2 separate regions of the Homo sapiens genome follow, and region 2 is linked to region 1. The links are contacts of gene promoters, found by promoter capture Hi-C in human tissues and cell types (Jung and others, 2019). All regions are on one chromosome and are shown on one strand. The core of a region is centred on a gene start or on the middle of the fragment in contact, and the rest is flanking DNA. Distances in the headings are between cores, read along the strand shown. Region 1 holds the start of ZNF704 (zinc finger protein 704). Region 2 has its middle 6.8 kb from the start of LINC02986.

Evidence for each region. The method cuts DNA at HindIII sites, captures the fragments that hold promoters and counts their contacts. A contact is called where the count stands out against the background at its distance.
Region 2: a contact is called between a fragment that was not itself captured here and the fragment with the promoter of ZNF704 in region 1, in 1 of the 25 tissues and cell types used here (thymus).

What each region holds. Positions count from the first base shown.
Region 1 is chr8:80,873,214-80,879,282 of GRCh38, forward strand. It overlaps ZNF704 (zinc finger protein 704), which reads right to left and starts at 1,568. Exons shown (of 9, transcript NM_001033723.3): 1 at 1,358-1,568. RefSeq lists a silencer at 247-447. The HindIII fragment of the contact is 4,011 bases long and covers 1-3,578 here.
Region 2 is chr8:80,529,834-80,535,902 of GRCh38, forward strand. No RefSeq gene overlaps it. Among named protein-coding and RNA genes, the nearest start is that of LINC02986, 6.8 kb to the right of the region's middle. The HindIII fragment of the contact is 4,459 bases long and covers 392-4,850 here.

The sequences.
Region 1 (6,069 bases), core at 318-2,817:
CGCCTCCGTGGTCCCATCACCCAAGTTCCCCACCTCACTGGGGAGAAGCGCCCTTTCCCGGCACCCACACCAAACAACAAACCCGACACGGCCTTTGAGGAAAGCGGGAGCCGCCGCCTGGGAGAGACGCAGGGGCCCAAGGCGCAGGCAAATCAACAGTTCCTCGCGCTGCCCCGCGCGGCCGCCCGCGCCGCCTGACACACCCCTCCTGGCCGGGTCTCTCCCCGGCGCCGCTGACCGTCCTCGGCCAGGCGCCTTGCCCCGGGGCCCGGGCCCGTCCCCCTCCCCGGGCTGGCGGGTCCCACGCGCGCCACCGCGCCCAACACGCACCTTCAACGCGCCCCGGGCCGGGCCCCTGGGGACTGCGTGGCCGGGTCCGAGGGGCACGAAACGCTCCTCGCCGTCCTCGTCGTCTTCGTCGCCGTCCACCACCTCGACGACCACCTCCTCGTCCTCCTCTTCCTCGTCGTCATCCTCCTCCTCCGCGCCCCCTCGGGGCTTCTCCTCCACACGCCCGAGCCCCCTCCGCCGCCTGCTCCCGCCCTCCTCGTCCTCGTCTTCCTCCCCTAGAAGCAGCAGCACCGGCGACGAGGCGGCGGCGGCGGCCCCGGTGGCCCGAGGGGGGCCGGTCCCGGCGCTGCGCGGCGGCGGCGGCAGCGGCGGCCTCCAGCTCTCCGGGGCGGGCGCCGGGGCCGGGCCCGGGACAGGGGGCGGGAGCCCGGGTAGGGCGGCTTCCTTGGCGGGCGCGGGCGCCGGCCCGGCAGGCTGCAGCGCGGCGCCCCCCCGGCGGCTGCCCAGGCTGGAGCGCTTGGCTAGACGCCGCGCCTGCATGCCTGAGCGCGGGGTTGCGGGCCGCGGCGCGGGGCCGGAGAGTTTGTCACCTCCTCTTCCTCCTCTGCCTCCGCCGGTGGCCGCAGGGCCGGGGACTCGCGGCCGCAAGGGGCTGCAGGAGCCGCCGGCCAGGACCCGCGGCTGCCACTGGCTGCAGAGGCGCGGGCGCCGCCTTCGCTGGACCGGCCGGCGGGGACGCCGGCGGCCGGCGGCTACGGCGGGGCGGCGCGGCGGCCGCGGGCGGGGGTGGGTGTGAGCGAGCGGCGCGCTGCCGCCTCCGCCGCCGCCGCCGCCGCCCGGGAGCCGCGGGCCGCGCTGCGCTCCATGCGGCCGGCGGCCGAGCCCGCGCGCGCCTCTCCCGGCCGGCTGCGCCCGCGCGCTCCGGGCCTACCGCTGCCGTGCCTCGGCGCGAGCTGTTTGTGTTGTATGTTTTCCACCACCGCCCCCCTCTTCGCGAGCCATTCCTCACAACCCTCCGGTCCCCCCGCTCAGACAAAACCCGGACTGGATTTTTTTTTTCTCTTACCCACAGTCTCCGAAAGTCTGGCGCTTCGAAGCAGTTGGCCCTGACACCAGGGCAAACGCTTAACCGCAGCCCATTCTTCCCTCCGGAGGGAGGGGAGTAGACTTCGCTGGAAGTAAGGTTGTCTGTCAAAGTTAGACTTTGAACGTAGAGATTTGCTACAAGTCATTTTAATGGACACTGATGTGCATGGCAGCTACTCCTGAGCTTGTGTGAAATCAAGGAAGGTGTACCAATCTGAGGTTTGGGATGAATTCCTAATATGAATCATCAGAGTCGCTTAGATTTTCGAAACACTGTTTCATGAGCGATTGTCTACCAATCTCACACTCTTTGAACGCACCACTCTAGGCCCTGCGATTGAGCTGCCTTGGCTCTGTGCTGAGTGTGTAGGTCTTTCAGCTTTTACTCCTGCTATTCTACCTTGAGTGCCTGATTTTAATGGCTGAATTCCAAGAAGCTTTCTGTTTGCACTGTCTGATCTGTAGACTCTCTTCTGGCATTGTTCAGGACTTTGAAGAAACAAATGGGTGGGAGTTCAAGATCGTTTGAGTTGGTTACTTAAGAAATTAATATGAAGTAAGACCAAATCTGGAAATCAAGCACATAACATGACTAATTTTGCCATTTTCTGACGATTTTTAGGTGTGATAAAGAAAATATATTTGCTATTGCGTGGGGTTAGGCTATGTAGTAAGTGGTATTTCTTCTTTTATTTATTTTAATTTTTATTTATATATATTTCTTTATTTTTCAGATGGAGTTTCGCTCTTGTTGCCAAGGCTGGAGTGCAATGTCATGGTCTGGGCTCACTGTAACCTCCGCCACCTGGGTTCAAGCGATTCTCCTGCCTCAGCCTCCTGAGTACCTGGGATTAAAGGCGCGCTCCACCATGCCATGCTAATTTTGTATTTTTCGTAGAGACAGGGTTTCACCATGTTGGCCAGGCTGGTCTCAAACTCCTGACCTCAGATGATTTGCCTGCCTTGGCCTCCCAAAGTGCTGGGATTACAGGTGTGAGCCACCGTGCCCGGCCTTAAGTCGTATTTCTTACATTCAAATCATACCCCCAATTCCATCCCTGTAGAGGAGGGCTGGGGAGGATCTTACGCATCAAATACCCTGGTAGGCACCTCCGTGGGGCCAGAATAAAAGGTGTATTCACCTTCAGTTAATTATTGTTGGACATTTAACATCATATGCTCTGTTAGACACTTGAATGGGGCTCATTAAATGCTCACTTATGGTGGCTTCCAACTGTTGAACAGGGATGATGACAAAGATTCTAAAATGAACTTTTTGTTCTCCCTGAATCAGATTAGCTTCCTGATGTACCTATTTCAGGTGATGAAACTCTCATTATAATCATTTGAGCCCAAAATAGCGGTATCATTTTAACTCCCTTCTCTACCTTATCCCTAGAGGCAATTGCCCACAAGTCCAACCCATTGTTCTTTCTAAAATGCATTTTGAATCCACCCCTTCCTTTCCATTCCCAAAGCTCTTACAGCATTTTGTGACTTCAAAAGTGGAAGTTTCTAACAGTTCTACACACCCATTTTCTCACCCACACACCCTCCCTTTCCCTCCTCAGATGCCACCACCAGATTTATGTTTCCGAAACCCCATTTAGATCACACCATTTTCTTGTTGGACTTTATATTTGTAAATATTCTGTTCAGGAATTCAGAGAGAAGAAAACAGAACATTAAGAGATGGGTGTGTCTGATCAAAGCATGGAATAGCAGGGGCTAGCCAATAAGTGAATAATCAGTATCAGCTAGAGTGTGCAAAGAATTAAGAAAGAACATTAAGGTGGTTTCATCCCAATTGGAAGAAATTTAGCTTCGTTGATTTGGGAGATGATTTTAGAGTGAGGCAGCAGGATCTTTCTCTGGCCATGAAAAGGAAAGATCGGGGCAAGGGGTGGGCAGACAGGTATGGAGGAGGTGGAGGAGGACAAAGGTGTGAGGCAAGCTGGCTAGTAGTTAGGCACATGGTCTCAGGAGCACCTAGGTCCGAATCCTGACTCTGGAACTTACCAGCTTTACTTTTACTCATCCTCTTTCTGTGCCTGTTTCCTCATCTGTGAAATGGGGATCATAGTAGTAAAGTTGTTTTGCAGAGTAATGAGTGAATAAATGCAATCAGCTTACAAGAGTGCCTGGGACAAGCTAGGGTTTATATGCGGGCTTATCATACTAAACATTGTAATGGTAGGTAAACAAGGTGGCTTGGGATACTCTCAGAGAATAACAAGGTAGCTCTCTTTTAAGTAAGCTCAGTAATGTCAGTAACTAGCAAAATGTGCTTTTAAAGACCAACAACTTGTCATCGGAGGACCATGGTCAGGCCAAGCATGTAGCTTTTTGTGCCTAAAATTGCTATAGATGAAAGAAAGTAAATGTTTTCCTGAGAACCTAGAGGAAATACAGAGTTAAATGAATTGGTGATTGGCATTTGTGACTTAGTGAAAGATGATACACTATTGTACATTCTTTTAAAATTGCTGTATATGCTTTGAAATCAGCTTATTGTTTCTCTTAGGCCACTTCAATAGACTTCATAGACATCCATTCCCTGGCCCCACATTGCTGGAAAGGCTGCCTCTGAATGGGAAAAAAAAAAAAAAAAAAAAAAAAAAAAGACCTGGCCTTGGCTTTCAAACCATTAAATGAAGGCTAATGTCAAAAAAGAGGTTTCACCCAAGCTGGGCTTTGAGGGATGAGAAGGATCTGTTCAGGCAGGGAGAGCAGCATTGTCTAGGCAAGTGCAGGCCACTGAAGACCACCCTCATTAAATCAGAGGACACTTAGTGGGAATAAAATCAAATTAACTCATCAGGAATCAAGAAAAGATCTCATGATGTGGGCACATGACACACTACATGCATGACATGGGCTCAGAAGTCAAAAAGTATCTTGTGATGCCAAGCAAGTGGGGAAGAGTCATTGCTGCTTCTTTCCCCCACATTCCCTAAGTGTAACACATTTTTTTCTTCCAAAACTGGGAGCGCTTGCCACTCAGAATGAGGAAATGTGCCTCTGAGCCATGGGATAAAGAAGGAGCCCCTCCAGAACAGTTGGATTGAACACATCCTCATCTAAAACATTTCATCGTTCATTCTGCATGGATTTGTTGAGTCCTGACAAGTGCCAGGTCTTGTTCTTGGTGCTGGCGTGCAGCAGCGAACAAAATAACCCTCCCTCGGGGAGGAAGCAGACAATAATCAAAGAAGATAAGTGAACAATATGATTTTGTGGAGGCATTAAGTGTCTACATGAAAAAGTAAGGGAAAAATAAAAGGAGGGGTAGAAGGTGCTGGAGGTTTAGTATAAAGAAATGTGCATTTCAAAGCGTATTTCTTTATATTAAAACAGACATAAGAATAGTGTGAAGTTTAGTGTGAACTTTGAATGAAAACTCGCAGCCCTGGACTCTGTCTTCTTCCTGCAGATAGAATCCATTCTCCCCTACTGTCCGCGTGCTTTGGTCAAAGTTTGAGAAGCACTGCTGCGGAAGAACGAGAGTAGGCTTTGGAGTGAGCATCACTCCCTAAACACATAGTAGCTGGCTGGCTCCTGTCTGGTTTCTTCAGATCTCCAGTGATTCTTAAACCTTTGAGTTCTGAGCCCTAAAGATAACTAAAACATTTTTTTTACATGTATCAGAAAGAAAGAGAAAGAAAGGAAGGAAGGAAGGAAGGAAGGAAGGAAGGAAGGAAGGAAGGAAGGAAGGAAGGAAGAAAATCAGGCTCAATTTGACATTATGTTCAGTGTTTTTTTAAAATTTAAGATTCAGCAAAATAATCATGTTTCCAAAATCAAGAGGTGTAACCATAGCCAGAACAAAACATATAACAAATTTGTACCCACTGGTGGTAGTTCTTTTTTGTCCCTGTGAAACTTTAATAGTTGGATTTGTTGAGATTAGTAGCTCCTTTTAAAAATTATTTTAAAAGTAAAAGTAAAATTTTGCCCTTTAAAAAGCTTATGAAAGTAAGATTAGCTTAGTTTTTCCACAGTTCTGGGAAACTTAAAAATGATTTCATTTGATGACTGTCATCCCACCGTATGAAAAATAGATTAAGGTTAAGAGAATAACTCATCTATTACAACCTTCAGGCTGAAAGCCTGTCTAAGTCAAGCATAATCTCCACCCAGATAAATGTTTCTTCCATGAGCAATTAACTTAAACTCTCTTTCAAAACACACAGTACTTTCAAAATACTAGTTCCTTACAATACCTCTCAAAGACTTAGGTTTTTTTTTTAGTGAGTGTTAAAATGATAGCATTGCCTTCTTATTTATGTAACACATATTTACTATTTCAGTAGGTGCAATTTTGTCTTTGTTGTTTCCTGATCAGTTTAGTCATCTCATATTGGCACTTGAGAGGCAATAAATAGAACGCTGGATTGAGATTCCAGAGATTTGAGTTGAATCATACTGTGGGGATTATTAGCCATGGAACACTAGTTAAGTCCCCTGATCTCTGCAGAGTTCACAACTCTAATATGAATGAGTTGTGCTCCCCAAGGAGCTCTCTCATTTTAACTCTCAAGTTCCATGATATAAAATGTCAACTTGAAGTCTGTTTTAAGATTAAGCCAAATACCCATTATTAAAATCCACAAATGGAGTCTAGTGTGTATGTTAAGAAATGCATGTCAATTTTTTTTTTTTTTGAGATGGGGTCTCGCTCTGTTGCCCAGG
Region 2 (6,069 bases), core at 1,371-3,870, 340 kb before region 1:
CGTGCTCTTTCCCATTGTTCTTTCCATTGGTGTTACTCCATTCCATTGATCACAGTGGCTTAAACTCTGGTAATTTTTATCCCTGATCTCTTTGGAGTTTGCAAACATGGAATGATACCATGCACTATTGCTTGGTGCATAAAGGATATTCAATCACAATCCTAATTTGGGTCACAGTTCTTTAGTTTCTGTTGGATGTCCTCAAGGTCTTTAGATTTACATTTTACTGTACGGAGTCTCACCATGGGCTGATGTTGCATAGTAAAATCACTTTCAGAAAAATTACAACCTCAGCTTTTCTGAAGATATTTAATGCATGCCAGCCATGTTAACACTGTTTGATGAGGTGGTGTCTAGCTGATTTCATCATGTCTCATCAACATGTATGTGTCTCTGTTAACTAAGATCAATAGAATCTTAGAGCTGAAGGAATGTTAGAAACAAATACTCTGTACTTTATCCAGCCTCTGCTTGAACTCATGCCATAAATGTGTACCTCCCACTTACTACCTCATATAACAGGTCATATTATCTTGAGGTCCTATCAGTTCTTCCCTACATTTGAGGCAGGTGGAAATCTGCCTCTCTACAACTTCCACTGGATAATCATTTCATCCCCTGAAGCCACTCAGATTAAGTTTGAGACTACACATAATGGTTTATGTAACAGTGGAGATTGGAAGGGAGAGAGGAGTGCTTGGGATCTTAAAATTTTTCTATGCCTAAAAAACAATACTCTAGGTTTTCTTTCTTTCTTTTGAGAGAGGATCTTGCTTTGTTGCCCAGGCTGAAGTGCAGTGGCACAATTGTATTTCACTGTAGCCTTGAACTCTTAAGCTCAAGTGATCCTTCTGCCTCAGCCTTCTGAGTAGCTGGGACTACAGGCATGCTCCACCACTCCCAGCTAATTTTTTTTTATTTTTTGTAGCAACAAGGTCACACTATGTTGTCCAGGCTGGTCTCCAACTCCTGACCTCATGCAATCCTCCTGCCTCGGCCTCCCCAAGTGCTAGGATTACTGGTGTAAGCCACCACACCCAGCCTCTGTTTTCATTTCTGTAAGAATAATGTGAGAAATCCACGCTGTTTACCCTTTTTCAGTTGAATGTTTTACTTTTCAAGACTAAGAATTGAATATTTGATATCAAAAATTGATGCCCAAAAATACATTTTAAAGAGAGGCATCAAGAATTATTTTTTATAAACTAGGATGTTAATTTGCTGGCACTGGTATAACACTTATCTTGGAGAAGCAAGTTTAATCTTAAGTTTGCAGTTTGATATCAAAATTTAAATGTTGCTTAATCCCAGGCATTCAAGAATTTCATAATTAATTGACTTAAGGCAGTGTAATTTTAACATTCATAAATTTATGCAATTCCTTTAGAAAATGTATTACAGGGATGATGAGAGGTTTTTTCTTTAATTGCATTTTAGATTATAGTCTAAAAGAAATGAGGAATATTTCAGTATTTATTATTAAATTCTTGTAAAACTTCAAGTCCCTCAAGCCCAAGTCATTCGCCTCTTTAGCAGCAGGATAGATTCAAAATTATAGCTACTTTGTTATTTTTATGCTGTCCTTCTTTTGAAAAACATTAAGAGTATATGTCTAGTGCATTTGTGTCACTAAGATGGAAGAATTTGAATATTCTCACTAGCTAATTTACATCCTAAAAGTTATCAATGCTCATTAGCAATTTTTGAACTTAAAAATATGAGTTAGGAAATTCCCTAATAATAAACACCCAAATGCATTTTCTAAGGCTTATTGTGTGCCGTTTGAAAGCTACCACCATAGATGTCATTGTTCTCTTGGCATAAAATCTACGAATATGAGAGAGCTGAGAATCCTAAGACCATCCTTCCTGTCTAGGTGATTCATTTTATTGCCATTTGCAGCAATTGATTGATATGCGTGACAAAGGGAAGTTTTTACTCTTCAAGCATCTATCACTCAGTAGCATCATGCCAATTTGCTGTAAGTTTTATGTTTAATGTAAGTCATTTCCTTATAGTATCAGTGTAACTCTAGACTTCTAAATGTTGGGAAACTAAGTGCAAATGATACAGACATGCAGTATTTTTTGCAAGCAGGAAATTGATAAATATGCATTAGCTGTAGTGGTAAATATGCATTTACCACTGTAGAAGTTTGTTTTCTGCATTTATGATGTAAATAACTTGAAAAATCAGATTTGAGAATGTTTCCAGTATATTATACTGTAATTAATGTCCTTTCTAGTGGCATATTTTAAAAAATAGTACCTCCTTTATCACCATAATTCATTGTTGGAGATGACTAATGGAGTAATTGCAAAGGCAGAATGTAGCATTTATATATGCTAAAGAAAGAGACTCAGTTTTTATTTTTTAACCACATGCACTCACAGAAAACCTAATTGTACCATTAAAGAAAAATCGCAAGCAATTGAAGCTAAAGATTGATGTACTATGTAATTGAGTCCCATCATAATAATTTAAGTATGTTTAAAGCATTTTTATTTTGGAATTAATAATTAGAACATGGCATATATTTAAGGCCTTTATATTTCAATTTCAGAGATGAAAGCTTTTAAAGACTTCTGAGAAGCGTAGTCATAGCTCATGAACAGGACTCTGTCATGGACATTGGAGAGGGAATGTAGGAGATTCTTACGAGGCACAATAGATGGAAAATATTCCTCAAGCAAAAATTGTCATGATTTGTTGATGTCATTTAGAAAGGTTTCAGAATAAACTACAGCTTCATATGAACTGGCTTTACTTCTTTGAGCAGGAAAAGTTGGTGAATAATTGGATAATTTTTTTCTTTAATATATCCAGAACATTTGGTATATTCCATCACTATTGGTATCATTTAGATTATGTATATTTATTTAGCTCTATTAGAAAACTTTTGTTTTTTCTTTAGTAGAGAGTGATCTAAATAATCTCGTTTAATTATTTATAATGTGAATTTTAAAAGCGATTGAACTTTTTATTTTCCCTTTTTGCGTTTGTGCTTGATGAGTGTTCCATACATTCTTTGCTTTCATCTCTGAGTTCCTACTTAGTCCTTTGCTTACTTTCTTCTGATCTTTGGCTAACTCTTGGGAGTTATTTTTCTAGCTAAATTCTTTTAACTACATCTAGCCATGTTTTAGATATAAAGACAAAGCTGAAGACTCACTGTATCTTCAAGATAACCTAAAATAAATTGGAATCCTATTTTATTTGCTAAAAATAATCTCGATGTTTAAATTTTATTCTAATGTTAACCATGTAAATTTACTACTGGATTTTGAATACTTTACTTCCATGAATAGTTTCTTCATAGTATATTTTCCTCTGCCTTAAATTTGGCCATTTTGCCCTGACTATGACCTGTCTTGTTTAAGCCTAACTGGCTAACAAATGCAGAGCGAACCTCAAAAGGAGAGCATTGTTTTCACTTTTAAATAACCTTCTTCAGGGATTTTCAAACTGTGCTCTAGGGTCCTAGGGGCTCTTTGAAGATGCCTCTCTAGCCTGTCCGGGAAGGACACAGCAGAGTAGGTGGGGCCCTGGGCCTTCAGCTAAACCTCAACTACAGCAGCTTCACTTTTATCTTATTTGTTAGGCTTTCAGGGTTTTGTGCTTAAAAAAAATTTTTTTAACCATTAATTTAAAAACACTCATGAATGATAATAATAATAGTAGCTTTTCTTTATAGAGCACATATCTTGTCCCAGACCCCGCTTTAAATATTAAAAATATTTAAATATTTTTTTAAAAATCCCTCTAAAATGTGCTTTCATCATCCCTGTTTTACAAATTAAGAAACTGAGACTTAAGGAAATAAGCAATTTACCCACAGCGTCATAGCTACTAAGTGACAGATTCTGAATTCAAATTTGGGTGCGTCAATTAATGTATTAGTTTAAGCCAGGAATGACAAATACAGGGTAAGTGTACCCTCACCCCATATTCCCACACCTGAGGCAGACAGGACTAATGGATGAAAACAGTCTTTTTTGCTAATCACCAACACAGCCTTAGAATCTTTCTCAGCAAGGTGCTATGGGCCGTCAGTCCAAATCTATTGGTTGTGGCATTAAATGAGGCCTATTTACTTCCCCTACTTTAAGGTGAGATATTTGTGGCCCCACACTTCAGAATAGGAAGTCTCTTCAGCCCTAAAAGTGTTTGCCAGTTGATTGTTTTGATATTACTAGAAAAACACCAAATTATCTTTGATCCTAGATGTACTTTATCATAATGAAGTTTTCTGTGAACTAAAATCCCTAACTGTATCATCTTCATTCTGACCACCTTCTAATACAGAAGTTTTGTTTCTGTATTTATATATTTGTAATCTGTATAATTTATACATTGATAATTATAAACACCATACAGTCCTCATAATCAGGATCAGTACGGGTTTTTAAAAAACAAAAAAACATTCACTTTGAGTAGCCTAGTGGAATAAAGACCTAAAGTAATTTATATTCTGAGACCTAATATTTTAGCTGTGGAGTGGAGGTGGTGAGGGAGAGGATGGAGAACTCATGCTTGGGGTAAGTCAGCCAGTTTCCATATAGCTGAGAATTTAGTGGTTTGAATAACCTTCACTGTTTCCACTACCAGCATGCCCTGCCCAAGAATGTCATAGCCACAGGGCTGGGTGAATGCCCAAACATTTTAAAAAAGGAGTATACACAACCAACCCCCAGCTGATTTTTTCAACTGCTCTTGCCAGGAGGGAACCAGTAGTTCCTGGGCTGTACCCATTCTTACCAGGGAGAGCTGGGTGCAATTAAAGTTTTTCCTGTTAGGTGCAAGACTTTTTGAATGACTCATCATAGTTCCTGCTTAAGACGTGTCAAAGAGGCCCAAGGCTATATTTAGGAACTTACTATGAAATTGCCTGTCAGTTCCAACCAATTTTTCCAATATAGTATATATGAAGAGTTAGTAGCAAGTAACTTTAAATACATGAAAAGGTTTTTGTTGTCATTTTTTGTTGTTGCTGTAAACTGGTATTGAAGATTTTCTTAAACGGATGGACATTCCTTTCATTGTGAAATGATTTAACACCCATTCAGCATACACATGACTATACTGGAATGACCCTCATATGACCATTGTCATGGAACCCATTAAATTCTTGTTTAAAAAAAGTTTGAATATGTCTTAAAATGTCTTCTATATGAATAAAAAGGATCTTCCTAAAAGCTCTTTCTGATGCACTTTTTTTTCTTTTTTTTTTTGAGACGGAGTTTCGCTCTTGTTACCCAGGCTGGAATGCAGTGGCACAATCTCGGCTCACTGCAACCTCTGCCTCCTAGGTTCAAGCGATTCTCCTGCCTCAGCCTCCCGATTAGCTGGGATTACAGGCATGCGCCACCACGCCTGACTAATTTTGTATTTTTAGTAGAGACGGGGTTTCTCCAGGTTGGTCAGGCTGGTCTCGAACTCCCGACCTCAGGTGATCCGCCTGCCTCAGCCTCCCAAAGTGCTGGGATTACAGGCGTGAGCCCGTATCAGAGGCGCCTGGCCTCTGATGCACTCTTGAGTATTTTTGTAAAATTAGAGATTGTTGGACAGTGCTAAGGAGAATGAATTATAGTGATTGGGTCCAGTGACACTTGGATAGTGCTACTAAGTATGAAATTATTTTAAGAGAGTTTAAAGAACGACCTCCTGCTGATGAGAGTGTTGGAAAGTTGGTTGCTGTGTAAGGTCAGCTACACATGCCTCCTGGTTTTTGCTTTTGTTGAATAAGAGAAAAGAGAGTAGCCAATTGTAAGTGGTCGTATTCCTAGTTGATCAGGGCTTGCTAAAAAAAAGACAGTCGAAGCCGTTGATTCCATTACCGTACATATAAGAGTTTTAACCAGGATTAGTAGCCCACATGAAGTAGAAATAGAAAGGCCAACCAAAGAACTAGTGATTCTAAGGTAAAATTTCCAGAAATGTGGAAAAGAACACTTGAGATTGGAGATGGTACCAGTTTTATATAAATGGTGATTGATAGCTGTTAAGGTTTGATGAGAAAGGTTCACGTATGTCTGTTTCTTTCACAAGTTTGTTCCCCTGATACTTCTT